Regions from separate parts of the Homo sapiens genome. Here region 2 is linked to region 1. Evidence: promoter capture Hi-C in human tissues and cell types (Jung and others, 2019). All regions are on one chromosome and are shown on one strand. The core of a region is centred on a gene start or on the middle of the fragment in contact, and the rest is flanking DNA. Distances in the headings are between cores, read along the strand shown.

The links. Contacts are between HindIII fragments. The study calls those that stand out against the background at their distance.
Region 2: a contact is called between a fragment that was not itself captured here and the fragment with the promoter of UAP1 in region 1, in 1 of the 25 tissues and cell types used here (aorta).

The regions. Positions count from the first base shown.
Region 1 is chr1:162,559,120-162,564,766 of GRCh38, forward strand. It overlaps UAP1 (UDP-N-acetylglucosamine pyrophosphorylase 1), which reads left to right and starts at 2,603. Exons shown (of 11, transcript NM_001324116.5): 1 at 2,603-2,658. UAP1-DT (UAP1 divergent transcript) reads right to left here and starts at 2,234. Exons shown (of 3, transcript XR_426859.4): 1 at 2,119-2,234; 2 at 1,356-1,533. RefSeq lists a silencer at 2,192-3,091. The HindIII fragment of the contact is 20,893 bases long and covers 1-5,320 here.
Region 2 is chr1:162,734,274-162,739,920 of GRCh38, forward strand. The region is part of intron 3 of DDR2 (discoidin domain receptor tyrosine kinase 2); the gene reads left to right. Among named protein-coding and RNA genes, the nearest start is that of HSD17B7, 54 kb to the right of the region's middle. The HindIII fragment of the contact is 7,364 bases long and covers 1-5,647 here.

The sequences.
Region 1 (5,647 bases), core at 1,353-3,852:
CTTGACCTCGTGATTTGCCCGCCTCAGCCTCCAAAGTGCTGGGATTACAGGCGTGAGCCACCGCGCCTGGCAGATATGATGGTTTTGTAAGGGGCTTCCCCCTTTGCTCAGCACTCATTCTCTCTCCTGCTGCCCTGTGAAGAGGTGCCTTCCACCAGGATAGTAAGTTGCCTGAGGCCTCTGCAGCCATGCAGAACTGTGAGTCAATTAAACCTCTTTTCTTTATAAATTACCCAGTCTTGGGTATCTCTTGATAGCAGTGTGAAAACGGACTAATACACTAACCAAAATTTTTCTGTGGTTTGTTAGTCTTATTGTTGACTCTCAAGGGCTTTCCAGGTATTCTCTCTTGTCATTTGCAAGTCGAAGTAGTTTTATGACTTTTTAAAATTCTTAAAAAATAATTTTTTAATTCTTATATATTTTTTCTAATTTATAAGCCTCTTAGGATTTCTGTTGTCTAACTTCATTAGCTGATACCTTTGGTGTAATGTCAAAAAATCATAGGTAGTGTGAACATCGTTGCCTTGTTTTCTTCAATCAGCTCTTAAAAGACCATGTATATAAAAAGTATTTCGAAGGACAGAAATAACTCTAGTGTTAGACATTTCTGGACATTTAGCTGGCAAGATGAGATTATGGCCCCTCTTATGCCTAGTAACCAGAATAACAAACAAATGAAACTTCAGCAAAAAAGGGTAAAAGTACAAATGTGATTTTATAGTAGTTCATTAAAAACATTGAGCTGGACCTCAGTTCTATCTTTTTTCTTTAAAGGATTGCTAACTAATAATTTTGCTCTTTACTCAGTCATTCATCTATGACTTATAGAATGCCTATAATATTCCAGACATTATCTTAGGTTCTTTCTCATTTTTTACTATACCCATGTGAAATAGGTATTAGCTTCATTTCATAAAAGGACATTGGAGTTTGGAGTGGTTAAATGACTTACCCAAAGTCACACAGTTAGTAAGCGTAGACTGATTTTGAATCTGGGTCTCCTAGTTTGAATTAATAAGTGCTCAATAATAAATAATAACTAAAGGTTATTTAGTGTTTACTGTTTTACATACTTCATTTATATCGATTGGTTTAATACAACCACCAAATGGCATTTTCATCTTTATTGTCTGTTTTTTATAGATGAGAAAACTGATAGCACAAGTAGCTTGCCAAAGATCACAAGCAATAAAGCTGAAATTGTCTTCAGATCCCATGATTAAGAAACCAATCACTACACTATAAACCAATCACTACACTATTCTTCTTTCAAAGAAACGAAGGAAGTTCTAGGATCATGAGAGATGGAGAGTATTCAATCTCCTGAATGTAAATCTACCAGCATTACTTACCAAGTTTAAGTTTTTCTGTTGTTACTTGAGGCAGTGGGTGATTATGCAATTGGTAAAGGGAATGAAAAGGCCTTTGCACCCAAGAAAGTAGAAGAAAGGCGCCTGAATCTCTTTATGATAGGTGGTATGTTAAATCTAGGTATTTTCGTATTTCAACATATTCCACTTCTTGCAAAAGCTGCAAAATGCAACACAACTTTAAATGTAAACATAGCTTCCAAGGGCACAGTGCTGAACATATAATAACCTGTGTGTGCACACCCACACTAGGTTATGTAACAGGACTGTAAACACTGGTCCTGGAATGGCCTGGGAGGTCATCTAGGTCCTCCACCATCTTTCTGCAGAGTACTGAGGCCTAGCGACGTTAAGTCTGCAAACTCACAAAGATGACCCCGGGCTTATACTACCTTAGGTTACCTACTACCTTTGCTTGCATTTCCTCTCTCCTTTCCTGTCTGTTTGTGCAAAAGAAAAAAGGCCTGGCTTCGCCTTCTTGGGAGCCAAAACACAACCAAACAGAGAGCGAGTTTGGAGCCCGGCCAGGCATCTTGTGAACTGCACACAAAATAACTAGCCCAAGGTCAGAGAGCGCGCCAGGCCCGCCCTGAAAGTTTCTCCGCAGGAAAATCCACCGCCCTTTCCCAACCACCCGCGTGGGTGGCTCGGAAATCCGCCACCCTGGGGACACAGCTCCCTGCCCATCTCTGTGGCCCGCTTGTGCCCCGTGCCGCTGGGCCGACTAAGAGCCTCGGGCTCGCACCTCCCAGTACAACCTAGGGACGTCAGGGGTCCTGGGACCCACGAGCCGCTCTCTGCCGGCCGGCTCCTGGCCCCTCCTAGCAGACCCAACCGACATCCTTCACCCTCAGTTAGTGCGCAGGAGGGACCGGGACGCCAGCCGACTGCGCTCCAGAACTATTCCCATTGGGCCAGAGAATGAGTGACGCACTAGGCCCCGCCCCGGCCCGGTGGGTTACTCCTTTCATGCCCGGCCCCCATCCCTAGCCCCGCCCCGGCGCCCCGGGCCGCGGCCGCCTCCGCGTCCGCGTCGTCGTCTGTGCTCCCGGCGCTGACGTGTCTGGGCGGTCGGCTTCCACTCCTTCAGGCGTCGGCAGCCACTAGTCGTGGCGAGAGGGGCGGGGTGGCCGGGGCTGGCGCTCCACTTGGCCCCCGCTCCCGGCCCGCCCCGCCGCCGCGGCCCCCCGGATGAGGGTATATATTCGGAGCGAGCGCGGGACGCCGATGAGTGGCCGCGCGGAAGGAGCTGGAGACGGTCGTAGCTGCGGTCGCGCCGAGAAAGGTGAGGGGCTCCCAGCCCAGCGAGGAGACGGCGGGGCTCGGGACCCGGGCGGGCGGAGGGCCTGGCCCCACCGCACACACGGCCACGCGCTCAGACGTGGACACGCGTCGCACGAACGTGCACAGCGCGGGCAGCCGAGCACACGCCGAGGAGCCTCCCGCTCGCCCGCAGACACACACCCCAGCCCGTGCGCCCCGCAGTCGCACCCCATCCTCCGCCACCCCGCGAGAGGGTGTGTGGGCTGGGCAGCCGGGTGGATGGCGGGGCCAGGGATGGAATGAGCGCGCCCCAGATGGACTGGGGGCGTTGTGGGAGGAGGTCTGGGCCAGTGTCTGAGTCCGAGGGGGTCGTGTAGGCGTGTGGGGTTGGGAGTGGGGCCTCTCCCGGGTGGGCAGTAGAGACCTCGAGGCTCTCAGGCTAGGGCCTTGTGGACAGTTATACCAAGTGTGGGGGCCTGTAGTGGGACAGGAGATCGTTGGCACTGTCAGGTGGAAGCGAGTTGGTGTGTCTTGAATATATGAGGAAAAGATTTGAGAGGTCTGACAAAGACAGGGGATACATTTGGAGGACAGGACAGTGGGACAAAACCTGTTTGCTTGCCACTTTTTTCTTTCTTTTTTTTGGTTTGGTTTGCCATGATACTGGTAGTGAGAGAGAATTGAAATTTCTGGGTTTCCCCTCTCTTGGCCAAGCAGAAGGATGGTATTGGAGGGCTGAGCACACGTATGCTGAACATATGGCTGCTTGAACTTTGGCCTGTCGCTGTGCTACACTTACTTCTACATGGTTTATGAAATCTGAAATCAGGTAATAGGATTATGATCATATGTGTGTGTCATTTGGTATTGCAAAAGTTTAAGGACTTTTAGGTGAAATTCACTGGGTGTGGATCCAAGAGTTCGCCGGAAACTCAAGGCAGTTGTCTATTCCTTCACGGTTAGTCAGTTGGCTCACTTAGCTGGAGCAAAGAAAGACTTCATAGGCTGTGCTGCCAAGCATTTATAGGATTCAGTTGGTGGTTATGTCTCAACTCTGATACTGTTTTTCAAAAGCTTTAAGAGGTTTACTTATTCATTTCGAGGGCATACGTATACCAGCAGAGATAGGGGCTGGGTGGGGGAAGCCAGAAAAGGAGGGAGAAATACTGGATTTCTTTAATACTGGTATTTAAATTCTAATAAAAATATATTTGATAATGGTAGATTATTACCAAATTTTTCATATATTTTGATGCAGATGGATTAGGCTGTGGGCATGTACCAAGTTTTGTCATAATTTCTCGAGCAGATTTTCAACTTTTTCAGATTTCGGTTGTCAAAATAAAAATCCATATCTTTTAACTCTTCTGTTAATTGCTGCTTACCATTACACGTGCCTCTAAACATCGTTAATGGGAAACATGCTACTATTTTTGTGGCATGAAGGTGCTTATATCTGCCTCAAATAAATATAATAGATGAATTGTGCTTGTCCAAAACTCAAGTATGGTCGTTACATTATGAACATTATACAACATGTAGATGAACACATGTTACCAGTGGTTTACGCCCAGATATCAAAGTTTAACCTATGAGGTACCCTTTTTTTTTTTATTTTTATTTTTTGAGACGGAGAGTCTCACTCTGTCGCCAGGCTGGAGTTCAGTGGCGTGATGTCGGCTTACTACAACCTCCGCCTCCCCGGTTCAGGCGATTCTCCTGCCTCAGCCTCCTGAGTAGCTGGGACTACAGGCGCGTGCCACCATGCCCAGCTAATTTTTGTATTTTTAGTGGAGATGGGGTTTCACCATGTTGGCCAGAATGGTCTCCATCTCTTGACCTCATGATCCGCCCGCCTCGGCCTCCCAAAGTACTGGAATTACAGGCGTGAGCCACCGCGCCCGGCCCTATGAGGTATCTTATTTGCATGGATTCATTTTCCCAAGTGTCTGAAGGTGGAGGAGTATCTAATGATCTTTTAGGAAAAGTTTGGTTTATATCTTAAAATGTTATAGTAATATGTTTGTGTATGCCTTTTATCAGACAGAGCACTCTTTACTCTTGACTATCTTGAAGGCATGTGAGAAAGGTTGGTTGTCTTATATTCATGAGGAAATCTATGCACAGGGAGGTAAAATGATTGCATAGAATCAAATGATAGAGAAGGACCAAGAACAGGGACTTCCTATTCTTTGGTTATCTGGTTCCTTGCTGATCTTCCTACTACAATGTACTCCCTTAAATCAGAGGCAAAGCAGCAGCATAAATAAGGTCTTGGGAAAGACTACATTCCTTGGAAAATAATTTAATATAAATCTGTTCCTCTCAAGTGTCTTTTTTAATGTGATTTTTTAAAATTAAAAAATAATAGCATCATGACTCTTGAAACCTATATAAATCAATAGGAATGCCTTTTAATACCATAATGAACATTGAAAGCTGAGTGTTGTTATTACCACCTCAGGGAACACACAGATGTAGGTTCTCTAGACCTGAGCTTGTAAATGGAGTTTGATGTTTAATGATCCTGGTGAGGTAGATACTATTATTAATCTCATTTTACAGATAAGGTAACCGAGGCATGGGGAAATTAAGTGGCTCAGCTTAGCCTAGAATTGTGCTCTGAACTACCATGTGTATTACTTTTCACTGTTCTTATAGGAAGAGAAGATAAGTGTCTTTAGAACCTACTTTTAACCTCTGTCTCTCACATCGAAGCAATTATAATGCAGTGATGATTCTTTACAGTGACCCTCAAATTTATTCCTTTCACTCTCATTTTCTCTGCCACTAATCTGGTTCAGACCTTTGGTATTTCATACCTGCAGTTGTCTTTTAACTTCTTTTCCTGCTTCTAGTTGTCCCTCCTTACAATCTATTGTATCCATTGCTCCTTTCTCTCATCTCTTTAAAGCATGGTAACACTGCCCTGTTTGAGAATCTACTGTTCGCTTTCTATTACTTATTCTCTGAAGTCTAAATTCTTTTGGTTAGTTTTCAGGCTTTTCATG
Region 2 (5,647 bases), core at 1,873-4,372, 180 kb after region 1:
ACCCTTGACCAAACTCCCAGGACTTTGTTTTTAAGCCTTGTAAAGTGATGAACAACAGAAAACACTTCCTTTATCACTTTTCAATAGACGTTTATTGAGCACTTGGTTAATGCCAGACATCCTACTAGAAATTGGAGATACAACAGAGGAAGATAGATATGATCCTTGCCCTCATAACACATGCTGTTTAGTGGGCAGACCAAAATTAAACAATTATTTACATTACAAGTCTAAAAACTGTTATGAACGAAAACCAGTTTGTTATAAGAGCATATAATAGAAATTCCTAACTTAGCTGGGGACTTGGGGGAATTCCTTGGGGGAGTGACTGGCTGACAGCTGAAGGATGAGCAGGAGCTAGTGAGTGAAGGAGGGAGGATGCACATCCCAGGTAAAGGGAGCATCATGCACAGAGACCTTGAGGCTGGAAGATACTTTGTGCATTCAGGAACTGAAATAAGGTCAGCGTGCTTGGTAGAGAGCAAAGAACAGGGAATAGCCAGAGATGAGGCCAGAGAGTAGGCTGAGACCCAATCGTGTGGACCTCAAGGGTCACATTTTCTTAAGAAGAATGAAAACCTGTTAGAAGGTTCATGACAGAATAAAGTTTTAGGAAGCTAATTTGGGCTATTGTGTGGAGAAGGGATGATAGAGGAACAACGAAGAAGAGCTAGAAGGCATTATAGTGGCTCAGATGGGAGGTCATGGAGGTTGCGCACTGCATGGGAAGAATAGAGGAGAGAAACAGCTGGACTCAACTGCAGGAGGTAGGATTTGTAGAACTTGCTAATGGACTGGATGGTTCTCAAAGGCCAAGCTTACTTCTCATTCCTTGACTGCCGCCTGTTGAGAGTAACATCTTACCTATCATTCCTGGACTCTTCCTCTCCAAGAATTCTATTTTGGTCTCCAGGCAGAGGTTGACTCAGGGAGAGCCTTTCCAGTTTTCATCAATGTCATTGCCACTCTGCTGTCCACCACACAGTTGACCTAAACCCTCTGTATGCTGGAAGAGCTGGACGAGTCGAGGAAGAGGGGAGCGCTGACATGTGTAACAAGTTATTTACATGAAATGAAGCCTCATGTCCTCCCCTACTTCCTCTAGTTCTCAAGCTTGAGTCTGCATTAGGGTCATCTAGAGTAGTGGTTAATACACTGTTTGCTACCCCCTCCCAGCAACCCCACCAGAGTTTCTGATTCATTAGGTCAAATGGAGACTGATAATTAGCGTTGCTAATGAGTTTCCAGGTGATGCTGATGCTGCTGGTCCTGGAAGCATATTTTGAGGATCACAGCTCTAAATGGTAACTGAAATGCAATCACAATACATAGATCAAAGAGCTTTCAGGAAGGAAACTGGCACTCCTTTGACACCACATAGCAGAGTATCCTATATGGATCTACCTCCACATCTGTTATATAGGAAAATTCCTGAATGGGTTCAGTTAGGACACAAAATATAAAGGGTTTCTATGCCTAGGAAATATAATTTAACTGAAATGTGTCATAAAAGCAGCTGCAGCAGCAGTAGCTCTGATAAAACTCCTTAGTTGCCATTCTCAGAATGAGCAGTACGTTAGAAGGAAAGTTATTTGCAACAATATCATGATTCACCTCATGTGACCCACATTCCCTATTTCTGCTTTACTTTAGATATTCCAAGAAGCAGAGGCTCTCATTGCATTCATGGCCTAGTGTTTAGAGATGCATTAAAGCCAGGGATGAAAGCCCAGTGGGACGGTCAGTGTGGCTTTCTCTGGTGCCCAGCATGGTCCTAGAGAATCATTACACGTCCAGGCTGAAGGGACCTGGGAGCAGTGGCTCCAGAGCCTGGCTACACAGCACAGTCACCTGGTGGACTGTAAAAATATGCAGGTTACTGGGCTCAGCTTCAGGTATACCAAAGCAAAATCTCTAACAGGAGGCTCACAAACATGTATTCTAAAACCTCTCCAGGCTTTTCTAATGCTATTGGTCCATGGACTGGCTTTGGGAATCACTGCCTTACAGAAAGCCTAATAGAACTCTCTTGCTTTCCACATGAAGAAACAGACCGAAAGAGAGCCAGGAGCTTGCTCAGATCCCACATGGTATAAGTGGTAGAACCGGGAGTGGATGCGAAGTCTTGATTTTCAAGGGTTGTGTGCTCAGTGGAATTACAGGCTTTAGAGCCAAGTTCTAAGATGAGTTAGTATTTACTCAAGGAATGGCCTTTGCAGTTAAAACTTACCTGTAGAATGTGTGATTAGTGGGAAACATGAAATATTGGGTGGAAAATGCTTATCATATTGCCTGACACTTGGTAAATGCTTCTAAATGGATGTCATCATTACTGCATTTTACTGAATTTAAGCAACTCACGACTCTAAGATGCATCATTACTTTATGTGCCTCTAAGAAAGAAAGAAAAACTACTGCCAGTTAAACTATGACACTATTTGCTTGCGAAGTGCATCCAGATTTCAGAGATGTCAGTACGTGAAAGAATGGGCAGTGTGGTATTTCACTTCTCTTTTCTCAACTCTATGAAGATTCTTACTTTACTGAATTAGACACTTAACAGTACATGAAAATTCCTGAAGGAGAAGTATACTTAGTGTGTTTGAGGAACAACAAGGAGGCCAGTGTGGCTGATGGGGAAAGTGGGGTAAGGACAAGGTCCAAGACAGCCAGGGGATGTCTGATTCCATGTCTTCACTATTGTGAATAGTGTGAACAGAAGAGTTTCATGATATGACTTTCATTTCTTTTATGACTACATAGTATTCCATGCTGTATATGTACCACATTTTCTTTTCTTTTCTCCTTTGCTTTTTCTTTCTTTCTTTTTTTTCGTTTCTTTTTTTTTATTACAGTTTTATTTTTTATTTATTTTTTTTGGAATAATTTTTTTTTTTATTATACTTTAAGTTTTAGGGTACATGTGCACATTGTGCAGGTTAGTTACATATGTATACATGTGCCATGCTGGTGCGCTGCACCCACTAACGTGTCATCTAGCATTAGGTATCTCTCCCAATGCTATCCCTCCCCCCTCCCCCGACCCCACCACAGTCCCCAGAGTGTGATATTCCCCTTCCTGTGTCCATGTGATCTCATTGTTCAATTCCCACCTATGAGTGAGAATATGCGGTGTTTGGGTTTTTGTTCTTGCAATAGTTTACTGAGAATGATGTTTTCCAATTTCATCCATGTCCCTACAAAGGACATGAACTCATCATTTTTTATGGCTGCATAGTATTCCATGGTGTATATGTGCCACATTTTCTTAATCCAGTCTAACATTGTTGGACATTTGGGTTGGTTCCAAGTCTTTGCTATTGTGAATAATGCCGCAATAAACATACGTGTGCATGTGTCTTTATAGCAGCATGATTTATAGTCATTTGGGTATATACCCAGTAATGGGATGGCTGGGTCAAATGGTATTTCTAGTTCTAGATCCCTGAGGAATCGCCACACTGACTTCCACAATGGTTGAACTAGTTTACAGTCCCACCAACAGTGTAAAAGTGTTCCTATTTCTCCACATCCTCTCCAGCACCTGTTGTTTCCTGACTTTTTAATGATTGCCATTCTAACTGGTGTGAGATGATATCTCATAGTGGTTTTGATTTGCATTTCTCTGATGGCCAGTGATAATGAGCATTTTTTCATGTGTTTTTTGGCTGCATAAATGTCTTCTTTTGAGAAGTGTCCGTTCATGACAAACCCACAGCCAATATCATACTGAATGGGCAAAAACTGGAAGCATTCCCTTTGAAAACTGGCACAAGACAGGGATGCCCTCTCTCACCGCTCCTATTCAACATTGTGTTGGAAGTTCTGGCCAGGGCAATCAGGCAGGAGAAGGAAATAAAGGGTATTCAATTAGGAAAAGAGGAAGTCAAATTGTCCCTGTTTGCAGACGACATGATTGTTTATCTAGAAAACCCCATTGTCTCAGCCCAAAATCTCCTTAAGCTGATAAGCAACTTCAGCAAAGTCTCAGGATACAAAATCAATGTACAAAAATCACAAGCATTCTTATACACCAACAACAGACAAACAGAGAGCCAAATCATGAGTGAACTCCCATTCACAATTGCTTCAAAGAGAATAAAATACCTAGGAATCCAACTTACAAGGGATGTGAAGGACCTCTTCAAGGAGAACTACAAACCACTGCTCAAGGAAATAAAAGAGGACACAAACAAATGGAAGAACATTCCATGCTCATGGGTAGGAAGAATCAATATCGTGAAAATGGCCATACTGCCCAAGGTAATTTACAGATTCAATGCCATCCCCATCAAGCTACCAATGACTTTCTTCACAGAATTGGAAAAAACTACTTTCAAGTTCATATGGAACCAAAAAAGAGCCCGCATCGCCAAGTCAATCCTAAGTCAAAAGAACAAAGCTGGAGGCATCACACTACCTGACTTCAAACTATACTACAAGGCTACAGTAACCAAAACAGCATGGTACTGGTACCAAAACAGAGATATAGATCAATGGAACAGAACAGAGCCCTCAGAAATAATGCCGCATATCTACAACTATCTGATCTTTGACAAACCTGAGAAAAACAAGCAATGGGGAAAGGATTCCCTATTTAATAAATGGTGCTGGGAAAACTGGCTAGCCATATGTAGAAAGCTGAAACTGGATCCCTTCCTTACACCTTATACAAAAATCAATTCAAGATGGATTAAAGATTTAAACGTTAGACCTAAAACCATAAAAACCCTAGAAGAAAACCTAGGCATTACCATTCAGGACATAGGCGTGGGCAAGGGCTTCATGTCCAAAACACCAAAAGCAATGGCAACAAAAGCCAAAATTGACAAATGGGATCTAATTAAACTAAAGAGCTTCTGCACAGCAAAAGAAACTACCATCAGAGTGAACAGGCAACCTACAACATGGGAGAAAATTTTCGCAACCTACTCATCTGACAAAGGGCTAATATCCAGAATCTACGATGAACTCAAACAAATTTACAAGAAAAAAACAAACAACCCCATCAAAAAGTGGGCAAAGGACATGAACAGACACTTCTCGTTTCTTTTTTTTTGAGATGGAGTCTCTCTCTGTCGCCCAGGCTGGAGTGCAGTGGTGTGATCACTGCACCTCCGCCTCCCAGATTCAAGCAATTTTCCTGCTTCAGCCTCCTGAGTAACTGGGATTACATGGGCACACCACCATGCCTGGCTAATTTTTGTATTTTTGATGGAGACAGGGTTTTACCATGTTGGCCAGTCTGGTCTCAAACTCCTGACCTCAAGTGATCCGCCCACCTGGGCTGCCCAAAGTGCTGGGATTACAGGCGTGAGCCACCATGCCTGGCCCACATTTTCTTTATCGAATCCACTATTGATGGGCACCTAGGCTGATTTAATGTCTTTGCTATTGTGAATAGTGTGAGCGGAAGAATTTCATGATTTGATTTACATTCTAAAAGATACATGGGAAAAGGTGGACAAAGGGAGATCAGTTAGGAAATTATTGCACTATTCCTGGCAATGGAAGACAGTGAATTAGCTTATTATGATAGTAAAATATGTGAGAAGAAGTAGGTGGGATATGGGAATATTTTTAGGGTAGCCAGTAGAATCTTCTCTCAGTGGATGGACTGAATACAGGGTATTGAAGGAGTCAAGAA